Linked DNA regions of Homo sapiens: all the other regions are linked to region 1. Evidence: promoter capture Hi-C in 16 types of primary human blood cells and fetal thymus (Javierre and others, 2016). All regions are on one chromosome and are shown on one strand. The core of a region is centred on a gene start or on the middle of the fragment in contact, and the rest is flanking DNA. Distances in the headings are between cores, read along the strand shown.

What was found. The method cuts DNA at HindIII sites, captures the fragments that hold promoters and counts their contacts. A CHiCAGO score of 5 or more calls a contact.
Region 2: a fragment that was not itself captured here is called in contact with the fragment with the promoter of DEPDC1B in region 1 in 2 of 17 cell types (fetal thymus and megakaryocytes); the score reaches 5.2 in fetal thymus.
Region 3: a contact is called between a fragment that was not itself captured here and the fragment with the promoter of DEPDC1B in region 1, in 1 of 17 cell types (megakaryocytes). The highest score is 10.3, in megakaryocytes.
Region 4: a fragment that was not itself captured here is called in contact with the fragment with the promoter of DEPDC1B in region 1 in 1 of 17 cell types (megakaryocytes); the score reaches 5.0 in megakaryocytes.
Region 5: a fragment that was not itself captured here is called in contact with the fragment with the promoter of DEPDC1B in region 1 in 1 of 17 cell types (megakaryocytes); the score reaches 6.1 in megakaryocytes.
Region 6: a contact is called between a fragment that was not itself captured here and the fragment with the promoter of DEPDC1B in region 1, in 1 of 17 cell types (megakaryocytes). The highest score is 5.5, in megakaryocytes.

Annotation. Positions count from the first base shown.
Region 1 is chr5:60,698,205-60,701,947 of GRCh38, forward strand. It overlaps DEPDC1B (DEP domain containing 1B), which reads right to left and starts at 1,962. Exons shown (of 11, transcript NM_018369.3): 1 at 1,842-1,962. The coding sequence starts at 1,889. LOC124900982 (a long non-coding RNA gene) reads left to right here and starts at 2,036. Exons shown (of 2, transcript XR_007058779.1): 1 at 2,036-2,137; 2 at 3,450-3,743. The HindIII fragment of the contact is 2,062 bases long and covers 1,226-3,287 here.
Region 2 is chr5:60,940,962-60,944,704 of GRCh38, forward strand. All of the region lies in intron 1 of ERCC8 (ERCC excision repair 8, CSA ubiquitin ligase complex subunit), which reads right to left. Among named protein-coding and RNA genes, the nearest start is that of ERCC8, 2.2 kb to the right of the region's middle. The HindIII fragment of the contact is 3,704 bases long and covers 204-3,743 here.
Region 3 is chr5:60,922,748-60,926,490 of GRCh38, forward strand. All of the region lies in intron 2 of ERCC8 (ERCC excision repair 8, CSA ubiquitin ligase complex subunit), which reads right to left. Among named protein-coding and RNA genes, the nearest start is that of ERCC8-AS1, 7.4 kb to the left of the region's middle. The HindIII fragment of the contact is 648 bases long and covers 1,851-2,498 here.
Region 4 is chr5:60,897,295-60,901,037 of GRCh38, forward strand. ERCC8 (ERCC excision repair 8, CSA ubiquitin ligase complex subunit) reads right to left here. Exons shown (of 12, transcript NM_000082.4): 8 at 2,333-2,433; 9 at 982-1,106. Among named protein-coding and RNA genes, the nearest start is that of ERCC8-AS1, 18 kb to the right of the region's middle. The HindIII fragment of the contact is 3,291 bases long and covers 234-3,524 here.
Region 5 is chr5:60,880,051-60,883,793 of GRCh38, forward strand. All of the region lies in intron 11 of ERCC8 (ERCC excision repair 8, CSA ubiquitin ligase complex subunit), which reads right to left. Among named protein-coding and RNA genes, the nearest start is that of ERCC8-AS1, 35 kb to the right of the region's middle. The HindIII fragment of the contact is 3,991 bases long and covers 75-3,743 here.
Region 6 is chr5:60,851,168-60,854,910 of GRCh38, forward strand. No RefSeq gene overlaps it. Among named protein-coding and RNA genes, the nearest start is that of ELOVL7, 8.8 kb to the left of the region's middle. The HindIII fragment of the contact is 443 bases long and covers 1,822-2,264 here.

The DNA.
Region 1 (3,743 bases), core at 712-3,211:
GTCTATACTGTATAGAGTGTTCGCAAAGATGAGTGCAATGATTCTTCCCATCCTCTCCACATGCACCTCTGTGGCTTTGCCACCCTGCCCATCAAGAAGTGGAGTTGAATTTCTAGAATCTGGATTTAGCTGTTTAACTTGCTTTGACCAATGAGATTTGAAGAAAAAGTCACAAGCTGAAACTTCCTTTTAGCTACGTTGGAACCATGAGACCACTACGTGAAGATGCCTCCGATAACCTGTTAGAGATATCTGGCCCAGGTAACAGCCAGGACCAAGTCAAGCAGCCATCTTCCATCATCCAGTAATAGCCAAGTCACATTATTTGTGGCACATGAGTGACCTCCACAAAAGAACCATTGACATGAGTCTAGCCCAGATTACTGATCCAAAGGATGAGCAAATAAAATGCTTGTCTTTATGCCAAATAAAACAATGTCACAGACTCTCCCAATCTCCTTATTATTTTTTTTTTTTTTTGAGATGGAGTTTCGCTCGTTGCCCAGGCTGGAGTGCAATGGCGCGATCTCAGCTCACTGCAACCTCTGCCTCCCAGGTTCAAGAGATTCTCCTGCCTCAGCCTCCTGAGTAGCTGAGACTATAGGCGCATGCCACCATGCCCAGCTAATTTTTGTATTTTTAGTACAGACGGGGTTTTGCTGTGTTGGCCAGGCTGGTCTCGAACTCCTGACCTCAAGCGATCCATCCCCTTAAATCATGTAAAATTTCATGAGTATGTGCCATGTGCAGTTTTCTGTGAAGAAGATCCTTAATCTTCATCAGATTCTCAAAGCGATCTATGAGCCAAATTTAAAAAGTAAAGACCCATCAGCCCCAACTATGATTTCTCTTCCAGAAGCTGGCCTTCTCAGCTCTGGCTTGACTTACTGGTATAGTGTGTGGCTGGCTTTGGAAAGAAAAGGAAACTCTATTTACATTATCTGTATCCCAGCATCCTCACCTCTTCCATGAGTCTAGCTGAGTAAGAGTTTGGATGTTAGTTCCCATCTTTTCCTGTGTATTCATTATAATGCATGGAACTATGAGAGTAATTCCCATGTTAAATGTGGCCAGAGAGGTCGGCAGACCAAGGAGCAAGTTACTGTCCTCCCAAATTACCATTACACTTCCACAGAAAGTCCTCTAAAAACTTGCCACAGACATTACCAAACTGTCACCCTTTATTGTTCCAAGTCAAAGCAGACCAAGTACACCTCAATACCAAAGCTTTTCTCCCAGAAAAAAAAAAAAAAAAAAACAGGAACTCAGAGTCGGCAAAGACTCTCCTAAAACATCTGTCCTGGCCAGCTCTTCATCTGGATCGGTGCTGACAGAAACAGAAACGCCAGGGGCCGGAAATGCGGCCAGCGCGATGCCCCTCTGTTCTGGGCACCGTTTATTCGAATACCCCGTCAGGTATCATCAGGTGTCACTCAGGAAGGAGACACGCCCTGCCTGGACTGCCGCGAACGCTGAGCGTTACGGGGTACGTGGTGGCCCCTCAGGTTACCGACCGGGTCGGTTAGATTCCAGAGGACAAAAGGCAGGGAACAGCCTGGTCTTGGGGTCTTTAAACAGAGAGGCGCCATCTACTGCCGAGAACCCAGTCAACATCTCATGGACAAAGCTGCACTAACCCCCGGCCGGCTGAGCTCTGGGCCCCGTTAGCCTTTCTTTGAGGCTCGTCCACTAAAAGGCAGCCCCAGTAGTCCCAGCTGAAATGCTCCACACCCGAGCCCCGCTGGCCTGCGGAAGCGAAGACTGACAAGCACTCTGTCCGCGCGCTGAGTGGGGGCTCGCGGCACCGGGTGCTCCGCCCAGGCCCCAGCACACTCACTCACCAGCCTGGTAGCTCGGTACGGCCCGGGCCCCACGATGCGATGCTCCATGGCGCGTAGGCAGCAGCGGCCGCAGCCGCGCCAGCGCTGATCCCCGCCAGCCGGAGGAGCAGCAGTTTGAATCCCAAGCCCGCGGGCTGCGGGCGCTGATTGGGCGGCGCGGCAGCACGTCACCGGAAATGCGCGGGGAGGCAGGCGTCTTCTCCGAGACCCGCGGCGCTGGGAGCTCCGCGTGCGAACTTGCCCGGGGCGAAATCTGTTGCCCACCCTGGTCCCACCGTGCGAGCACACCTAGGCAGGTGCGACTAAGGGGCCGGGGGCGTCTCCCCAGCGCTGGAAAACGCTGTGCAGCGCCCTTCCCAGATTTCTGCGTCCGCGCAACACAAACACACGCAACGCTATCTCTACAAAAGGGTCAATAATAGGTGTTATCCAGCGACCGAAACCCAGCTTTGGGCCGCGTGGATAAATACCTGTCCTCCCTACCAAGTGCACTGTGAGCCTGGAGGTGCTGCTAACGCTGGGAGAAGCGGTAGTGAAATGAAGCGAGGCGACAGCTTTTACCAGTGTAGGGACATTTAAAAACGGGATAGAGAGCACAAGGAGCGTAGACAGTGTGTTAAGGGCAATAAAGAGCGGGAAGGGAGCCCCGATTCCTCTTCTGTTTGTTCTCATGATAGTCTTTTCCCCTTTAATTTGAGTTCTATGTTTTGTATTGGGCTGATACTTTTAGTCCTCGGCAATAGGGTTGTGAGTCCTTTTTTGACTGCTTAGAATTTTCCCCCTGGGAATTGCTAGTCCGATTTGCAATCTTTCAGAGGGACAAATGAAGTAACTCCATATACTTAGGACTCTGTACACCTACTCAAATTTGGTCATCTCGGTAAGTACCCAGGACAAGACGTTGAAGGAGTGAAGGTGTGCCATTCCAAAATATGCCTAATTGGTATATTGATTATTTCGAGCGGAAAACATTGGAGAAATGGTAGTTTCAGAAAGGGCAAGCTGACCTGCCTCTTCGATGCAGCAGGCCACAAAGATTTCTCTGGGATGGGCATCCTCTCCCTACCACGGTGAGAAAATAGCCTTTATCACCAAAGGCTTGGAATTGAAGGCTGCAGTGGACCTGAATAAACATTCTTAACGAAGTAACCCTATCTTCCACTAGGAGATATAGGAGATTTTTTACATATATCTTCTAGTGACTCCCTAGAAAATGTTACTGCCTTTGTGAGCTGTGGAAGTTAACTCGAGTCACAGGGCACCAAAATATGTTAGCAGCTGCCCATATCCGAGACACGGCCCCAAAGTATGTTACAGGCAGTGAATTCCTACAGATCTGCAGCAACCTCAATTCTTGACTCCTCAGAAGAAAGAGTTCGACTGAGGGGCATAAGGCAAAAGGAGAGACCAAGGCAAGTATTAGAACAGAAGTGAAGTTTATTAAAAAGCTTTGAATGAAAGGAAGTACACTTGGAAGAGGGCCAAGCCAGTGACTTGAGAGATCTAGTGCGTAGTTTGACCTTTTGACCTGGGGTTTTATACGTTGGCATACTTCTGGGGTCTTGCTTTTGGGGCTTTGCATTACTTCTCTCCTGATTCTTCCCTTAGAGTGAGCTGTCCACAGGCGCATACTTGAGCCCACTTGCCCAACTCCTAAGATCTTATCGGGAAGCTGCTGATCAACAGTTCAAGTGTTTTCTATTAGGAGACTGCCTTTCCCTGGTGCCGGCTGTGACCAACTATTATTTTAGAGAGACAATTAACAACCACCTGACCATCACCTGATGGCTGCCTGACATTCCTGATGTGTGTGTGTATGAGGGGGAGCCCTCTCCTGCCCTGCTCATGCCTGACTAGCTACCTACTGTAACACCTTAACCAGATTTTCTTTGTCATGGCTTT
Region 2 (3,743 bases), core at 806-3,305, 240 kb after region 1:
ATGACACAAGTGTTGAGATTATCTGATAAAGACTTCAAGGCAACCATTGTAAAATGCTTGAACTTGAGCAACACTGGCATGGTGGCCCGAGCCTGTAATCCCAGTGACTCTTGTGAAGCTGAGGCAGGGGGACTGCTTCAGCCTAGGAGTTCAGGACCAGCCTGGGCAAAACAGTGAGGCCTCATCTCTAAAAATAAAAAAAAAGCTTGAGTAAGCCATTGTGCACACACTTGAAACAGATGTTAAAACAGAAAGTCTCAGCAAAGAAATAGAAGACATAAATAAAAGCCAAATGGAAATTTTAGTTTTCAATATAAAATTATTTTAACTTAATGTATTCACTAACAGATTGGAGATGGCAGAGGAAAAAATCTGTGAACTTGAAGATAGATCCATTAAAATTATACAATCTAACAATATAGAGGAAAAAAGATCGAAGGGAAAAAGAACAAAGCCTTAGGGATCAGAGGAACAATTATAAAAGGACTAACATTTTTGTCATTGGAGGTCTAGAAGGAGAAGAGAAAGAGTGTAGTGTTGAAAAAACATTGGAAAAAATGGCTGGAAAGTTCCCAAGTTTATGGAAAGATATAAGTCTACAAGTTCAAGAAGCAGAATGAACCCTAACTAGGATAAATCCAAAGAGATCTGCAACCAGACACATCATAATTAAACTGCTGAAAACTAAAGACGAAGTCTTCAAAGCAACCAGAGAAAAATGATAAATTACCTATAGGAAAACAATGATTTGAATGGCTGCAGATTCCTTTTCAGAAACCATTAGACCTACTCTAAAAAAATTGATAAACTATATTCTTCAGAGACAAGAAAAAGATATAAGAAGGAAATTTGAGGCATCAGGAATAAAGAGACAGCAACAGAAATAACTATCTGGTTAAATATAATGGCTACTTTTTTCCTTAAAATATGATTGATGGTTGGAAAAAATTATAATGTCTGATAGAGTATATAATGTATGTAAATATAAAATATAAGACAACAATATATATATGGTGCAGGGGAAAGGGTGATAAGGTTTCTATATGCCAAATGAAGCAGTAAAACAATGAAATGATCCGAAGTAGACAACGAAAAGTAAGTATTTTATAATTCCTAGAGCAGCCACTAAAGAATTATACAAAAAGATATAGTCAAAACCATAGTATATAAAATAGAATACTAAATAATGTTCAAACAGTCAAATGAAAGCAGGAAAGGGGAAACATAAATATGGAGCAGCTAGCACTCTCACCTATTAGTGGTGGGACTGGAAAATGCTTTTGGAAAACTGTCAGTTTCTTAAAAAGTAAAGGATTTATCTAGTAGCTCCACTGTTATGCATTAACTTCAGAGAAATAAAAGCATATGTTCATACAATGACTCATACATGAATTTTCAGAGCAGCTGTAAATGTATTAGTCCTGAACTGGAAACAACTCAGATGTCCATCGACAAGTGACTAGATAAACTGTGGTATATCTGCACAGTGGGATACTCCACAGCAAAAAAAAGGAATTGATACATGCAATAACATGGAGAAATTTCAAAATAATGTAATTATGCTGAGTGAAAGAAGCCAGACAAAAAAGATTCCATTTATATAAAATACTAGATATGCAAACTAATCTATAGTGACCTAAAGCAGATTAGTAGTTTCTAGAGAAGGAAGAGGGTAAAGCAGAGAAAGAAGGGAGACAGGGATTATAAATGACCGTCAAAAATTTTTTAGGGTTATGGATGTTCTCTTGATTATGGTAATGGTTTCAAAAGTAAATATATGTCAAAATTCATCAAATTGTATATTCTCATTTAATGTGCAGGGTATTGCATGTCAATTATACCTCAATAAAGTTGTAAAATGTTTTTTTAGAGGGTGTAAACTGTGAACACTGCATATCAGTGTTCATCCTTTTGCTCTTACATGATGACAAGGAAGAACAGTAGACATCTCCTATGAATAAAATGGAACTATATAATTGTTTAAGCAAAAACATCACTTAATGATGGAAATATTTTTAAAAAAATTTTAGGCTGTGTGGTAGCTCGCACATATAATCCCGGCACTTTAGGAGGCAAAGGCAGGAGGATCACTTCAGCCCAGGAGTTCAAGACCAGAATGGGAAACATAGGGAGACCCCATCTCTACGAAAAATTTAAAAATTAGCTAGGTGTGTGGGCACATGTCTGTGGTCCCAGCTACTTAGGAGGATGAGATGGGAGGATCATTTGAGCCTGGAAAGTCGAGGCTGCAGTGAGCTGTAACTGCACCACTGCATTCCAGCCTGGGTGACAGAGCAAGACCCTGCCTCAAAAAAAAAATATTTTTTTAATTTTTAAATACTTTATTTGTCTTAAACGTATAAGCAATCCTCACTTGGCACAGTCTGATATGAATTTCAGTTACCACAGTTTATTAACCGTGAGAAATAGCATAAAAGTTTGCTACTAGCTTTTCAGTTCACAAATCATTACATAAATAACATATGAATCAAAATTGACCAATTTGCAATTTTACTTCTTTCAAAGTCTATGGGTGATTGGTCACTGTGCATCTGTTATTCAGTTCACACACAGGCTGCAAAGCATGGAGGTTTGTTATTAATATTTCTGTGCCCTTGAGATAAACCCACATGGAATTTTACAGATTAAAAGAGGAAATTGGCCAAAAGAATGAAAGTGCACTAAAGAAGAGTGATAATACTAGAAGTGAAACTTGCATTAAACATAAATGGAGCAAATGAAAAAAAAGCTGCCTGTGGGAACATGCTGATTGTGGCAACAATGACACTGCCGCCATTTGAGACATTCTAGATATGCAGACTGAGGAAATCAGTGAAGGTGAACTTATAGACATAAATGAGGAAAAGTGATTGTGATGAAAGGCTGATGATGTGTCAGAGGAAGTGACACTGGCAAAAAAAACACATTAAAGGAACTCTCAGAGATATTTCACAACATTGAAAACGTAATGGATAAAATGTTGGAAACTAATATTTAAATTTCTCCAGAACGCAGAACTCATAAGCAACTGTGTTCTCCAAGTAAATATCTTCACAGGTTCCTCAATTAATGTGGGCAAAATTAAAAGTACAACTTGCTTCTTCCCTTTGGAAAACCCTCTCTCAGAGTATATTACCAACATTCAACTTCTTATACAAGGCATAGATCTGGGAATCATTATTCATTCTTCTCTTTTTGTCATTCACGTATCCACTCAATTTCCATGGCCTGTTGATTCTATTTCTCAGACGTTGTTCAAATCTCTCCACTATCTTTATTCTACTTGGCAACTCTGTGGCCCAGGCTTCCAACAACTCTCTCCCGGACAAGTGTAATCACAACAGTTACCTAACTTGGCTCCCACTCTTGTTCTCAGTTGCAACCCATTCTCCAAGCAGAAAACAAAATGCAATAGCTGTTACCTTATTCTCATCTTCACACCTCTACTCAAGTACACAAGGCTCTTCCTCATCTAGTTTCTGTCTACTTCATCTCTTGTCAATGGTCCCTACCCCAATTCTCCGCTCTAGTCATTCTGAACTTTGTTCAATTCCTGGCCTGTGTCCTCTGCCTTTAATAGGCTGCCTGGCACACTGTAGGAATTCACTAAATATGCAGACTGAATGAATGAACGAGTCCGTGGAGGGCAGTTATTCTTTGGAGTAACTTAAGAGAGAAGGAATACAGTACAACGAAGTATTCTTATTTAGGTTTATAGTGTCTTCACCTGAGCCCGCGGGGGA
Region 3 (3,743 bases), core at 925-3,424, 220 kb after region 1:
TGTTAGACACTCTGCTAAAACAACTGTCAACAAGGCAGGCATGGTTCCTGTCTTCGCAGAGTTTACAATCCAATAGGGAAAACAAGTAGTATGCATAATCACACAAATTATTAGTTATGATTGGGATCACTGTGACAATAACTTATTTTTATTCTAGTTTGGAAATTCAGGAGCAGTTTCCCTGATTGCAATATTTAAGCTGGTATGTGAAGGATGATTCAAAGTTAGCCAGAAAGGTGTGAAAGTAACAATCCAAGCCCATTCTAGGAACCAAAAGAAGGGATTTGTTGCTGGAGCAGTGTGGAAGGGAAAGAGTGGTGAGAGATGAGAGGCAGGAGCCAAACCACTGAAGCCTTACTTTTGGGAGTAAAAGAGGGTGCTAAAAAATTAGCAGTATCTTTTTTTGGAAACAATTATTGACTCACTCTCAAGCTGGTCTATTATATTGGTAGAACCTACAAAATTATTCTATTCAAAAACTTTGCAAAAATATTTCTAAAAAGTAAAAGTAACAAGCATATATACTAAAGCTATATACATTGATTGAACTTAATAATTTGTAAAATCATTCTTGGTACTTCATATACTTTAATCAGTTTCTTAACCATATTTGTCTCTAATACTGTTACTGTGTTTTTTTAAATGGGATTTTTCAATATGATCTTATTAGTTTTTTTGGCATAAAATTGTCTAAAAATCATCTTTAAATCTGGAGTTGTTGACACCTTTAACTGACTTCCCTAAAAGCCATAATGTTTAATTTAGGAAATAACAATAGTTGATGAGGTATATGATAAGTTCAGAGAAAATTCTGCAAAATGGAGGATATTCTTGAAATGTGCAAATATTTCAGGTTATTTTCACTGTTTTTACCTTAATTCAAAGTACCTTTCTTTAGTATACTTATTTTTTTACAAGACAAAATTCTCCTTGAACAAATTCTTTATGTCTCTTTTGGAAGTTACACCAAATTTAAATATTATAAAATCTTAGACATTGTGAATGTTATTCCATTACAAAATATACATTTATCCCAATTACAAATATACATTTATCCCAATCAAAAATAGGGGAACCATCAAAAATTCTTCACAGAGATCCAAACAATGCAATCTCTCTACATCATCACTCTTTCCTTTTCACCTCAAAGTAACTCATTATCATGATTTTTATCGTAGTCACTGTCTTTCTCTTCTGTATAGTTCATAGTTCATCACCTTAGAGTGTACACATGAATATTAGCTTTGCTTTTTAAAAAAATTTTAATGTCTTTTAACTTTAAGCTATAGGTCTCCTCTACCTTTCTTCCTCCCTCCTGTACTTTTCCCCTCTCTTGTAATTTATTTGTTGCAAAAACCAGATCATTTGTCCTGTAATTTCCAGCCTGGACTTTGGTGACTGCATTCATGTGCTATAATTTAAAATAATTTCTATTTCCCATTGCTCTTTGTTGTGATGTGATATTAGCAGACAAACCAATATCTAGATCCATCAATTTATACATTTATATAAAGTGTTGCTATCTGCTAATATTATTGCTCACCGTCAATCCTTAAGTTGCTGTCTCTCTTGTCATTCTGGTTGAATGATTTCATTCTCTGGTTGATTCCTAAGGAATGGCTAATGAGAACAACAGTCTCTGAATTCTTGTGTTGTTGACAATTTATCCGTCCTTTTTGTATCTGAAATCAGTTTGGCTGGATATAAAATCCTTGACTCACATTTTATTTCCTTGAGCATCTTGGATAAGAAGCTTCATTTCTTCTGCCAGAAAGCCCAAAGTCAAAGTCTAGTGACAATATAAATCCCCCCCTCTTATATAAAGTTCCAGATCTTATTTATCCTAGAAAAGCTTTCTTGAATTATTGTTTTAATATTTATTCTGCTCTTTTGCCTTGGTTTCTTTTTTGGGAACTTCTATCATATGTTATGCTGGATCTTCTTTGCCTATGTTCTATATATACACCTCTTGAATTATTTTCCTCTGTTCATTTCTTTTTGGCTTTTAAAATTTTCCTCCTTTCTAGTTTCTATTTCTAAGGCATTACCTCTTCCATTTATTTGTGTTCTTTAAGTTTTAGTCAGTCTTCATTTCTGAAATATTTTTATTTCTAATTTTCTGAGTTTGAGCATCTCATTTCTGAGGTTTTCTAATAACTTAACATTATTCTCTCATTTATTATATGTTTATAAAACAACTTTTACCTAGTTTTGAAATATTAGGTTAGAGTTCTCATCTGTTTTATAGATACTTCTTTCCGGTGTGACTTCACTATCTGTAGCAGCTTTAGTCCACTTCTTATTCTCTTTGTTTTTATAATGATTTTGTAGGAACTTTGACCTTAATCCTATTCCTTTGCTCATTTTTATGTAAAATTAATTTTCTTAACCTTTTAGAATGGAGGCTTGACTTACAATAATGTTTAAATTTTATATATTAAAACATCCTCTTCTTCCCTTAAAAATTTTTTTTGGGGGGTAAGATTTCAAAATATGGAAGCTTACTTTCAGAGATTTCCTGTTTCTGTTCACCTTTCCAATTTTATCGGGGACATCTTTTTCCTTTGTTTCTATTGTCTCTGTACTGCTCAATTTGGATTCTATTTCCAGCAGTTTTCCTCAGTATATAGTTCTGTACTGGGGGCGCACTTTGACTGGTTAGCTCTTTGGAAAGATATTAGAGTCCAGACTGCTATAGCTCCTTCTGGTCTTACCATGGGCCACTCAAACATATCTACAATTAGAGTATGCCATCTTCTCCCAGTTTGAGCTGCTGTAGTCAAATTTGCTTGCTAAGTTTTCAACCAACCTGTTGGTTACTTTGGACTTATCCAGGTATATCAGATGCCTTATCGCTTTTTACTGCCTCCTCTAGCAAAAATGCTGGTAGTGCACAGATCTTTTAGTTGTCAGTGGTTTGTTCCCACTTATTCACAGTTTGGGGTTTGTAGGGATACTTCATGACCTAGTTTGGTTGTAAGTGTTAATCTGGTTTTTCCTATTTGCCATTTTTAGTCTCTTTATGTGTTTTAATGGAGAACTAGAGGAACATTAAAAACTGCATTGACATTGTCATCTTTCTTTCTTTTTTTCTGAGAAGAAGTCTCGCTCTGTAGCCCAGACTGGAGTACAGTGGCATGATCTCGGCTCACTGCAACCTCTGCCTCCCAGGTTCAAGTGATTCTCCTGCCTCAGCCTCCAGAGTAGCTGGGATTACGGGCACGCGCCACTGCACCTGGCTAATTTTTTCTATTTTTAGTAGAGACGGGGTTTCACCACGTTGGCCAGGCTGGTCTTGAACTCCTGACCTCAGGTAATCCGCCCGCCTCGGCCTCCCAAAGTGCTAGGATTACAGGTGTGAGCCACTGCACCCGGCCTGTCATCTTTCAAGAATGGCACCCAAACTACAGTTTTTGGCACTACATTCACTGAGTATTTTGATTGAAAGATTTTCATCTGATTTTGAACAAAATACAATTAAATGTAGAGGCAGTGCTATTTAACTCTCCAAGATAAGGAGCTTGTACCAGAAACAAACACACGTCTTTCTTCACTGAGAATGTCTTGTTACAAACATGTCTTAGCTCCTTTAAATGGTGTGTGTAATGATGTAGTAGATTTATGTTTTAGCACAAGATCCTTATCTTGTGACCCAGTCACAAATAGTTCATGAACTAGTAGCATGTATTGATTTATAGACTTGTTTTTAAGATAAATTCAATACCAATTTATAAAACAATAGG
Region 4 (3,743 bases), core at 629-3,128, 200 kb after region 1:
TCATAGTCCTTACCTAATCTAATATATAATTTATCCATCTGTCCATCTATTAATTGATTGATGCCTTTCATACTCTTGCTGAAATGTAAGCTCCATGAGGATAGGACTTTTCCATGTTTTGCCAACTGCTGTCTAATACTGCCTGGCAAATTAAATGCTAATTATTATTAGCACAGTATCTGACATACAAGCTCTCAATAAATATTAGCTATTATTATTATCACCAAATTATAAGCTTTTAGTAGTTTGTTCTGAAAATTATTAAACCATAGGCATATCTGATAAGACTATAACCTACATAAAAACAAGTACTAGAAATTAATAGCCACATAAGAATATAGCACCTTCGAAATATATTTATTGCAGTAGTATTAAATAAAGTACTACATATTCTGGTACTATAAAATTCACTGTAAATTTTGTTTATAAGTCATATATAGTACAGGTTAAGTATCCCCATCCAAAATGATTTGGACTAGAAGTATTTTGGATTTTAGAATATTTGCTTTACTGCCTGAACATCCCTAATCTGAATATTCAAAATCTGAAATGTTCCAATGAGCACTTCCTTTGTGTGTCATGCTAGCACTCAAAAAGTTTCAGATTTTGGAACATTTCAGATTTCAGATTTTCAGATTAGGGATACTCAACCTATATAAAATTTGATTACTTAGCTTCATATCTTTAATTTATATCAGTAGTCCTCAGTCTTTTATTTTTCTCTACTACGCTTTGCACTCCCATTGAGAACAGTGGCTCAGTAGAACAGTGATTCTCTGCTAAGTAGGGAGAATGTGGTAGGTAGTGGGTAAGGGTGGGTTGTCCTGAGTTGAGAATTACTAGTCCACATAGTAGAAACACATTTTTAAAAACAGCTGTGATTAAAAGGGAATAAATGAGTTAAATATATAAAAAAATCAAGTGTATGTCACAGATCCATTTCTTAATTTATACCCAAATATATACTTAAAAATCTCTTACAAGTGTGTTTTCTCCATTGGAACTATTCCAGAGCCTCATTCGATTATCTGTACCAACAGTGAGGAGGTGAAGTCCATCACTTGTAAAACATAAGCCATTAACTTTCCCATTATGAGCAGTGTTTGCTGCAATGAAAAACATAGTTCAGTTTATCTGTTCTTGTATTCAGGACATATTTAATGTTTGATGATATAATTAAACATATTAAAGGACAACTACTTGAGTTACTTAAAAAATGTAAGTAGATTATACTTAACCAACCCTTCAGATTATTTGAATAGGATAAGCTATATAAATCAGAACCATAAAAATAGAGGAAAACAAAAAAAAAAGGGAAAAAATTTCTGCCTAACATACTTTTCTTTTCCAGCAAGGAAATTGTGCCATGAAATTCAATTAAATGTGTAGCTTAACACTAAAATTTAAAATTAAATGCCTTTCATCTCTCATATATTTTTATTGCTAACCTAAAAATCATTCTATGGACTATTAAAATCAATAATTCTAGTGTTTTCCATTGAAAAAAAAAACAGGGAAAGGATGACTGTTGTAGTCTCAAAATTTATATCACTTACAAAATTAACAAGTTTGAGAAAGCATAATTCTAAAATAGCCTAATTAATTTAAAAACATATAAAACATGTTTTATATAGTTTACATGTTTCATAAGGTTTTTTAAAAAACTATATAAATTCTAATATATGAAATATATTAGAATGAACTATATAAAACCTATGATTGTTTTATATAGTTTTTAAACTTTGTGATTGTTTTATATAGTTTTATGTAGAAACTACATAAAACTATAGTTGTTAAGAAATTACATAAAACAATTATAGGTTTTATATAGTTCATTCTAATATATTTCTGGTCCAGAATTAATTCTCTATCAAAATTTCTACACAGGAATTAAATTCTACTGTAAAAATGCAGTTTAGGTACTTTGTCACATGGATTGCAGCTGACTCACATTTAACACAATTTTATGTTGATACAATGGCCACAAAATGTTACTATTTCTGTAATTTATTGTGACTTTTTAAATGGCATTGAATATGTATAGTTGGCCTCAATGGAGCAAAAACAAAACAAGTAAAGCAAGTTAATTCACAAAAATTTCTACTTTTGAAAATTTGGGGGCAAATGAAACTGCCATTTTTATTTGTATCTTAAAGAAAGAGAATCATAATTTAGTTTATGTAAATTAAGAAAGTGATATACGATGAATGCCTTTTGAAAAATCATAAAGTTTGCAATTTGTCAATATGCGTTTATTATGTGGCTTCAATTAAAAATTTTCAATGTAAAAAAATACTATCATTGTCATATTTATTAATGCGTTCTTCCTTACCTGATTCAACAGCTTGTGACTTTTTCCCATTATGTTGATCAAGAGTAATCAAACATCCTGATGCTCTTCTCACATCCCATAATTTTACTCTACTGTCAGCACTGAGAAGAAATAAATGTTACATTGACATATGTAGCTAGGACAATGACTGTACCCCTCACCCACCTTTCTAATTTTATGGCACACAGAGGTCTCGTTATATAGGTACATATGTATTCATACATTAGGGTTGTTGAACTTTTGCCTTTTCAGCAAATATTCAATAGTCAACAGTAGCTCAAATAAGTGAGTAAATAGCAAAAAAAAAAAGTAACCTTTCTTTTCCAGATAACAAGAACAAAATTTTGCTGCTTTTTATATTGTTTTAAATTACATGAGCATCTTTTCTCCCAAGGACCAGAAAGGCTTGTAGCTTGTTCCAAGTAAGTTCCTTACCATACCTTTTCTACTGCTTGTTATCCAAATGCTGTCAAGACAAGCAATTAACTAATTTCACTTTGCTCAAGAATCCATTTGGTATGATTTGGTGTTTTTTTCCTTTTTATATAAAAAACGGTAAGTGTAAGGTGAATAATGAGGACAATGCATTTCCATTTGGTTTCCTATACTCAAATCAATCTTTGCCAGATATATGAGAACTATATTTAATGTCTCCTAGAAATTAGACACTTACTTTCATTTTCTTTCAAGTAAGCAAAAAGAAGAAAGGCAAATCTATGATCAGACATCTATTTCAGCTTCTAGATTATTTCTAAAGAAAAATGCCTGGCAATCCGACGTGCTCCTAATCAGTTCAACTGATGCTATCATGTCCTCACAAGGACCTCAACAATATTGTAACCCAGGGGGCTTATCAATGCCATTTTAATAAGAGAGAGCATTACATTTTTATAAGCCTATTTTTTATTTAATTTTTTTAAAAAAATATACACACAAGGTTTACTGGTTTCTATAACCTCGATTCTTTTCACAGATGACCATCAAACCTAGCCAACTGGAATAGTTAGCAAAAAACTAGCATTACCCATTCTTAAGTTGGTTTTCTTTCTTTCCAGGTGAAGGAAATGAAATCAGTATGAGGATTTAAGTCTCTTCTGAAACAGATTAGATTTGAACATATCCAACTTTTAACACTGATTACTAGGTCCATTGTGGTACTGATTCAAATTCCTGGAGTATTCTTATAATTGAAAGCTTCTTAGCTCTCCTCTTATCTGATGAAAACCAAGTTAAGCATGAAAAATGTAAAATCCACCCAAGCATAACCAGCACCTAGCTCCTAACCTTCATACCTCTTCAGCTAGCCTTCTTATGGCTACATTCTAGACCTTGCTGCACTTCAGAAATCATAAATTTCAACATCACATTCTGCCAGTTATTAACAGAAGCTTCTTTGGGGCCTGAACTGTGA
Region 5 (3,743 bases), core at 820-3,319, 180 kb after region 1:
GGCAGGCCTGGTGGTGACAAAATCTCTCAGCATTTGCTTGTCTGTGAAGGATTTTATTTCTCCTTCACTTACGAAGCTTAGTTTGGCTGGATATGAAATTCTGGGTTGAAAATTCTTCTCTTTAAGAATGTTGAATATTGGCCCCCACTCTCTTCTGGCTTGTAGAGTTTCTGCCAAGAGATCTGCTGTTAGTCTGATGGGGTTCCGTTTGTGGGTAACCCGACCTTTCTCTCTGGCTGCCCTTAACATTTTTTCCTTCATTTCAGCTTTAGTGAATCTGACAATTATGTGTCTTGGAGTTGCTCTTCTCGAGGAGTATCTTTGTGGCATTCTCTGTTTTTCTGAATTTGAATGTTGGCCTGACTTGCTAGATTGGGGAAGTTCTCCTGGATAATATCCTGCAGAGTGTTTTCCAACTTGGTTCCATTCTCCCCGTCACTTTCAGGTACACCAATCAGATGTAGATTTGGTCTTTTCACATAGTCCCATATTTCTTGGAGGCTTTGTTCATTTCTTTTTATTCTTTTTTCTCTAAACTTCTCTTCTCACTTCATTTCATTCATTTGATCTTCCATCACTGATACCCTTTCTTCCAGTTGATCAAATCAGCTACTGAGGCTTGAACATTCATCACGTAGTTCTCGTGCCATGGTTTTCAGCTCCATCAGGTCGTTAAAGGACTTGTCTGCATTGGTTATTCTAGTTAGCCATTTGTCTAATTTTTTTTCAAGGTTTTTAACTTCTTTGCCATGGGTTCAAACTTCCTCCTTTAGCCCGGAGTAGTTTGATCGTCTGAAGCCCTTTTTTCTCAACTCGTCAATGTCATTCTCCATCCAGTTTGTTCTGTTGCTGGTGAGGAGCTGCGTTCCTTTGGAGGAGGAGAGGTGCTCTGACTTTTAGAGTTTCCAGTTTTTCTGCTCTGTTTTTTCCCCATCTTTGTGGTTTTATCTACCTTTGGTCTTTGATGATGGTGACGTACAGATGGGGTTTTGGTGTGGATGTCCTTTCTGCTTGTTAGTTTTCCTTCTAACAGTCAGGACCCTCAGCAACAGGTCTGTTGAAGTTTGCTGGAGGTCCCCTCCAGACCGTTTGCCTGGCTATCAGCTCAGAGACTGCAGAACAGTGGATATTGGTGAATAGCAAATGTTGCTAGCTGATCGTTCCTCTGGGAGTTTTGTCTCAGAGGTGCACCTGGCTCTGTGAGGTGTCAGTCTGCCCCTACTGGGGGGTGCCTCACAGTTAGGCTACTCGGCATCAGGGACCCACTTGAGGAGGCAGTCTGTCTGTTCTCAGATCTCCAGCTGCGTGCTGGGAGAACCACTATTCTCTTCAAAGCTGTCAGACAGGGACATTTAAGTCTGCAGAGGTTTCTGCTGCCTTTTGTTTGGCTATGCCGTGCCCCCAGAGGTGAAGTCTACAGAGGCCGGCAGGCCTCCTTGAGCTGTGGTGGGCTCCACCCAGTTTGATCTTCCCAGCCGCTTTGTTTACCTACTCAAGCCTCAGCAATGGCGGGCGCCCCTCCCCCAGCCTGGCTGCCGCCTTGCAGTTTGATCTCAGACTGCTGTGCTAGCAATGGGCGAGGCTCTGTGGGCGTCGGACCCTCCGAGCCAGGCGCAGGATATAATCTCCTGGTGTGCTGTTTGCTAAGACCATTGGAAAAGTGCAGTATTAGGGTGGGAGTGACCCGATTTTCCAGGTGCCGTCTGTCACCCCTTTCTGTGACTAAGAAAGGGAATTCCCTGACCCCTTGTGCTTCCCAGGTGAGGCGATGCCTCACCCTGCTTTGGCTCATGCTCAGTGCGCTGCACCCACTGTCCTGCACCCACTGTCCGACACTCCCCAGTGAGATGAACCTGGTACCTCAGTTGGAAATGCATAAATCACCTGTCTTCTGCATTGCTCACGCTGGGAGCTGCAGACTGGAGCTGTTCCTATTCGGCCATCTTGGCTCCACCTAGTTTTTTGTATTTTTAGTAGAGACGGGGTTTCACCGTGTTAGCCAGGATGATCTCGATCTCCTGATCTCGTGATCTGCCTACCTCAGCCTCCCAGAGTGCTGGGATTACAGGCGTGAGCCACTGCGCCCGGCTTAGAAACATTTTTTAATGGTAACCCCTACTGCATGTCTGAGAATGTTCATTTTCCTTTTGATGAATATGATAACTTTGAATCTTAGAATTCAATCAATGAAAACAGTAGAAAAAGTTACGTGTTCCTAGTACATTTTCCAAGTATCAGCTAGAAGAGCTGGAAAACAATATATTAATTTAGGCATTCTTTATTGTTAAACAGATTACATTATTAAACTTAATGTCAGCTATACTCCAAATGTCCAGAAGCGAAACTATTATTATTATTATTTGAGATGGAGTCTTGCTCTGTCACCCAGGCTGGAGTGCAGTGGCATGATCTTGGCTCTCTGCAACCTCTGCCCCCCAGGTTCAAGTGAGTCTTCTGCCTCAGCTTCCTAAGTAGCTGTGACTACAGGCGCATGCCACCGGCGAATTTTTGTATTTTTAGTAGAGATGGGGTTTCACCATATTGGCTAGGCTGGTCTTGAACTCCAGATCTTGTGATCTGCCAGCCTTGGCCTCCCAAAGTGCTGGGATTACAGGCGTGAGCCACCACTCCTGGGCACGAAACTATTATTAAACCTCAGGTAACTACTCACTGATTTCTAGCCACGGTACACTTATTTGCAACAGTTGTATACTGAAGTCTGTTCATTTTGTCTTTCATCCAAATGTTTACTGAATTTCCTGTCTTTTTGGGTTGTCAATTTGACTATTAAATTAGGTTATTTAGTGAGAGTTTATTAAAAGACATCTTGTCATTGGGGGTTAGCTGACTCCTCTTCCCTACTCTGTCTCTAGAAGCCTTTAACTTGCCTTTGATAACTACCAAAAATAGCCCTGGGAAAACACACACACACACACACACACACACACACACACATGTCTGTAGGTGGATAAGCCACATGAGGGCCATGCTTCCTAATCCTACTATGGAAGCCCAGTGTGTAACCTATTAAAAATTTTAATTTCAGTTGAAAACTCAACAGAAAAGCAAAATTATACTTCATCATAAATTATTTTTGTATGGTAAGCAAAGAAACAAAAATAAATGAAAATCATAATCAGTTGCATACAAATTATTTCACTTTTCAGTGAAATAATGATATATGAATGCATTACAGTATTTTAGAAATACATTTTATTGCCAAAACAATCACAAATAAATATTATACTGGTAGTATGATAAAGCAGCAGTAAAAATGTTGTAGATGGATGTGGTACACATTACCATTTGAGACCCACTGATCAAGTGTCACTACTATTATTTCAGTTTTCTCTGCAACATCTCCTCCTAGTGGACATGCAGTCTGTGCTTGAACATATTCATCTATATCTCACCAGGTTGTCAATTCTACTGACAGATAGTGTCAATGTTATAGAAATAATGAAGCATGAGTTTAGAGGGGACCTAGTTATGAGTTTAGAGAAGGAATAGAACCAAACTTAACATCTACAAGGATATTTCTTGATAACTTTCAAATTTCTGACTGGTAATTAGTGGCAACTCTCAGGTTGTCAGCAAGTGATTATACATTGACACAAGTGATATGTAAAACAGTTATGTATTGTGTGAATGTCAAAACAAAGTAAGATTCTTAGTGAGAGGTCAGGTTTAAACTGGAATAAACCTGCCCTATAGATCTCAGGCAGGAAAAAGTAATTAGGAGT
Region 6 (3,743 bases), core at 793-3,292, 150 kb after region 1:
TGGTATAATCTGTAGTCAGTTAATCAGTGTTTACTGTAGTCAGTCAATCAATGTTTACTTTTGGCATAAATGACAGTGGAGGCCAGCTTTTAAAATCAGACTGAGTAGAGATGAGCATATATGTGTTAGTGACTGATTTCCTTTTTTTATTTTGAGACAGAGTTTCGCTCTTGTTGCCCAGGCTGGAGTGCAATGGCATGGTCTCAGCTCACTGCAACCTCCACCTCCCGAGTTCAAGCGATTCTCCTGCGTCAGGCTCCTGAGTAGCTGGGATTACAGGCGCGTGCCACCACGCCCGGCTAATTTTTCTGTATTTTTAGTAGAGACAAGGTTTCACCATGTTGGTCAGGCTGGTCTCAAACTCCTGACCCGTGATCCGCCTGCCTTGGCCTCCCAAAGTGCTGGGATTACAGGCGTGAGCCACTGTGCCTGGCCATGACTGACTTCCTAAGTGAAGAAAAGAAATTGTGAATTGCTTTATATTACTCATGTTTCTTTTTCTTTGGCATAGATCATCAAGACCTGACCCTGCAAATGGATGTGATTTAAAAAATGGTATCTTTTATCTCTGTTGTTCTTGGTTTTATATATCCATTTAATGCATTTAAAATGAGTTCCCTATCTATTTTTAAGCAATTGTGCAGATAAAGCATTCTAAGAAATGAGAGTGAAGGAGCTGTGACATATCCCCCAAAGCAAAGTTTGTGAGTCATTTAGTTACAGCTCATTTGTTTCAGCTGTTTTTTTCTAGATTAGCATGAGGAAAAATTAGACTTGTTCAGAAAGCTTAAGAAAATAGTTATTGTAAGGGAAAACAGTGATGGGCATAGAAATGGCCAGATTCTTTTCTATATTCTATCCTATTTTTAAGAGACAGGGTCTTGCTCTGTCGTCCAGTCTAGAGGGCAGTGCAGTAGTCATAGCTCACTGCAACCTCAAACTCCTGGGCTCAGGTGATCCTCAGGCGAGTAGCTGAGACTACAGGTATGAGGGTATGAGCCACCACACCAACTTGTTGTTGTTGTTGTTTTTGTTGCTTTTAGATAGGGTCTTGCTCTGACACCCAAGCTGCAGTGCAGTGGTATGATCTTAGCTCGTTGCAACCTCTGCCTCCTGAGTAGAAATGAAAAGCATGCCCACTCACAGCTATAGCAGATGATGGCTAGCTATTCACTAGATTTGTTTCCTCTTTCTCCTGGGCACGCAGCTGGATTATATCTCCCAGTCTTCCTTACAGTTTAGCAGTGGCCATGAAAGTGAATTCTGGCCAATGGAATTCGAGCAAAGTGTTGCTTGTCCCTTCCAGGCCTGGCTCATTCACATTTAACAGGTGAAATCCTGTGTGTTCTTTCTCCTGCATCACCCTGAAGGAAGCCTTATATGCTGAATGTGGTGGAGCCACAAGATGGAAGGGATTCTGTGTTCTCAAATTACCCTGTGGAGGGGAAGGATCTTCTAGGAATTATAAACAAATTTATAGTGCATTAAGCCTCTGAAACTTTGTAGTTAATCTGTTACAACTGTTAGCCTGCCTCAAGTGATAAAATACTCAGAGAAGATAGTACTCAGAGAAGGATTTACAGTTTCACCCTGCAGAAAGCAGGAAATGGTTAGCTCTTCCTTTGGCCTTTCCTTGATATTTTGCTAGGTAAGGGCGGACAACCTCTTGATATTCTTCCTTAATGGACTAGTTTTCCTAACTTTACCTTATTACAGTAGCCTCTTAACTAGCTCCCTGCTTCTGTTGTTGTCCTCTGCCCTTAGAGTTTATTATCAAAACAATGACCAGACTGACCTCAGGACGTTCTGCTAAATCCTCCAAGCTTTCCATTTGTTTGAAAAATAAGCCAAAGTCTTTTCAATGACCTACAAGAGCCTTTGTGATCTGCCACCTCTCCCTATTACCTTTTATCCTTATCTCCTTTACTCTCCCTTTCTGCTCAGACAGATACACCCACACAGATTTCCTTGCTATCTCTTGGACCCGGCAGGCATGCTTTAGCCTCAGGGCTTCTGTGCTTGTTCCCTCTGCCTAGAATGCTCTTCTCCCAGATACCCACATGACTTGCTCTTTTAAATCCTCCCGATGTTTGCTCAGAGAGGCATTTTCTGAGCATGCTATTTAAAACTAAAACTCCTCACATTCTCTATTCCTCTCTTCTACATTATTTTTCTACGTAGCACTTATCACCTAACATACTATACACATTTCCTCTGAAATATTGTTTATTGTCTGCCCCTCTCCACACCCCAATTAAAATGAAAGCTTCATGAGAATTTTTGACCTTTTTTTTAAAAACAGTTGCCCATCTAGAGTAGCACTTGGCAAACAATAATACATTTTTTAAAAAATAATTAAATGCTATTATATAGATAAGCAAAGTATGCCAAAGGAACACTAAAGAGAAACTCCTAATTCAAACTGGTTCTGGCAGGGAAGAACTTTCTGGAGAAATTTGCTCCTCTGCCAGGACTAAGGGGTGATGTAGTTGTTGCGAGCATGAGACAGTGGTCACGTCTTAGTCCTCATCTTAGCTGACCTATCATCATCATTTGACACAGTTGATTACGGTTTTCTTGAAATGCTGCCTTCACTTGACATCAGGGATACCACACTTGCCTGGCTCTTCTCCTTTTTCTGGAAATTCTTTTTCAGGTTCTTCACCAATTTTTCCCTCATCTTCCACCCCTAAATTTTGGAGTGCTCCAAGGTTCTGTTCTTAGCTGTCTTCTCTCATCTATCTGCACTCATACTTCACGTGATCTGAGTAAGAAAAGGCTTAAATGCCATCTCTATAGTCATGATTCCCAAATGTGTTTTCTAGACTGTATCTTTTTCTTGAATTCCAGATTTGTATATCTGAGTGCCCACTGGGCCTCACCATTTGATTAATAATTTGTATCTCAAACTTAAATGTCCAAAACAGAGCCACTGATATTTCCCCTTTTTGTAGTCTTCTCTACCTCATTCAATGGCAACTCTATTCTTTTGGTTGCTCAGGCCAAAATCCTTGGAGTCATCTTTGACTCTTCTCTTCCTCTCTGCCAACTCTTCAAAATATATCTAAAACCACTTCCCACCATCTCCACTGCCATCATGTTGGTACCGCCACCGTCATCTCTTGCTTGGAATATTTCAATAGCCTCTTAACTGATTTCTTTGATTCTGCTTATTGTTCCCTTAGTCTCTTTGGGCTGCTATAACAAAATATACTAAGCTGGGTGGCTTCTAAACAACAGAAATTGATTTCTTACAGTTCTGGAGGCTGAGAAGTCCAAGATCAAGACACTAGCAGATTTGGTGCCTGGTCAGGACTAGTTAGCTGTATGGTTCATAGTGGTGCCTTCTTGCTGTGTCTTCATGTGGTGGAAGGGGAAAAGGCAGCACTCCGTTCTCATGACATTATCACCTCCTAAAGTCCCTACCTCCTAATACCTTGGTGATTAGGTTTCAACATATGGATTTAGGGGAGACACAAACAATCAGACCATAGCACTTCCCTTCAGCCAATCCCCACTCTGACACCAGAGTTCCCCTGTTAACACCAAAGTCAGATTATGTCTCTCCTTTGCTCAAAACCTTCCAATGGCTTCCTATCAGCCCTATAGGTACCTACAAGGCCCTTCTTGACCTGAGATAATCTGTAACCACTATCCCCCTAATTATCCTTCTCCATTCAGCTTTCTTGCTGATCCTTGGACATGCCATTGTGCTCTTATCTCAAAGGGCCTTTATACTTGAT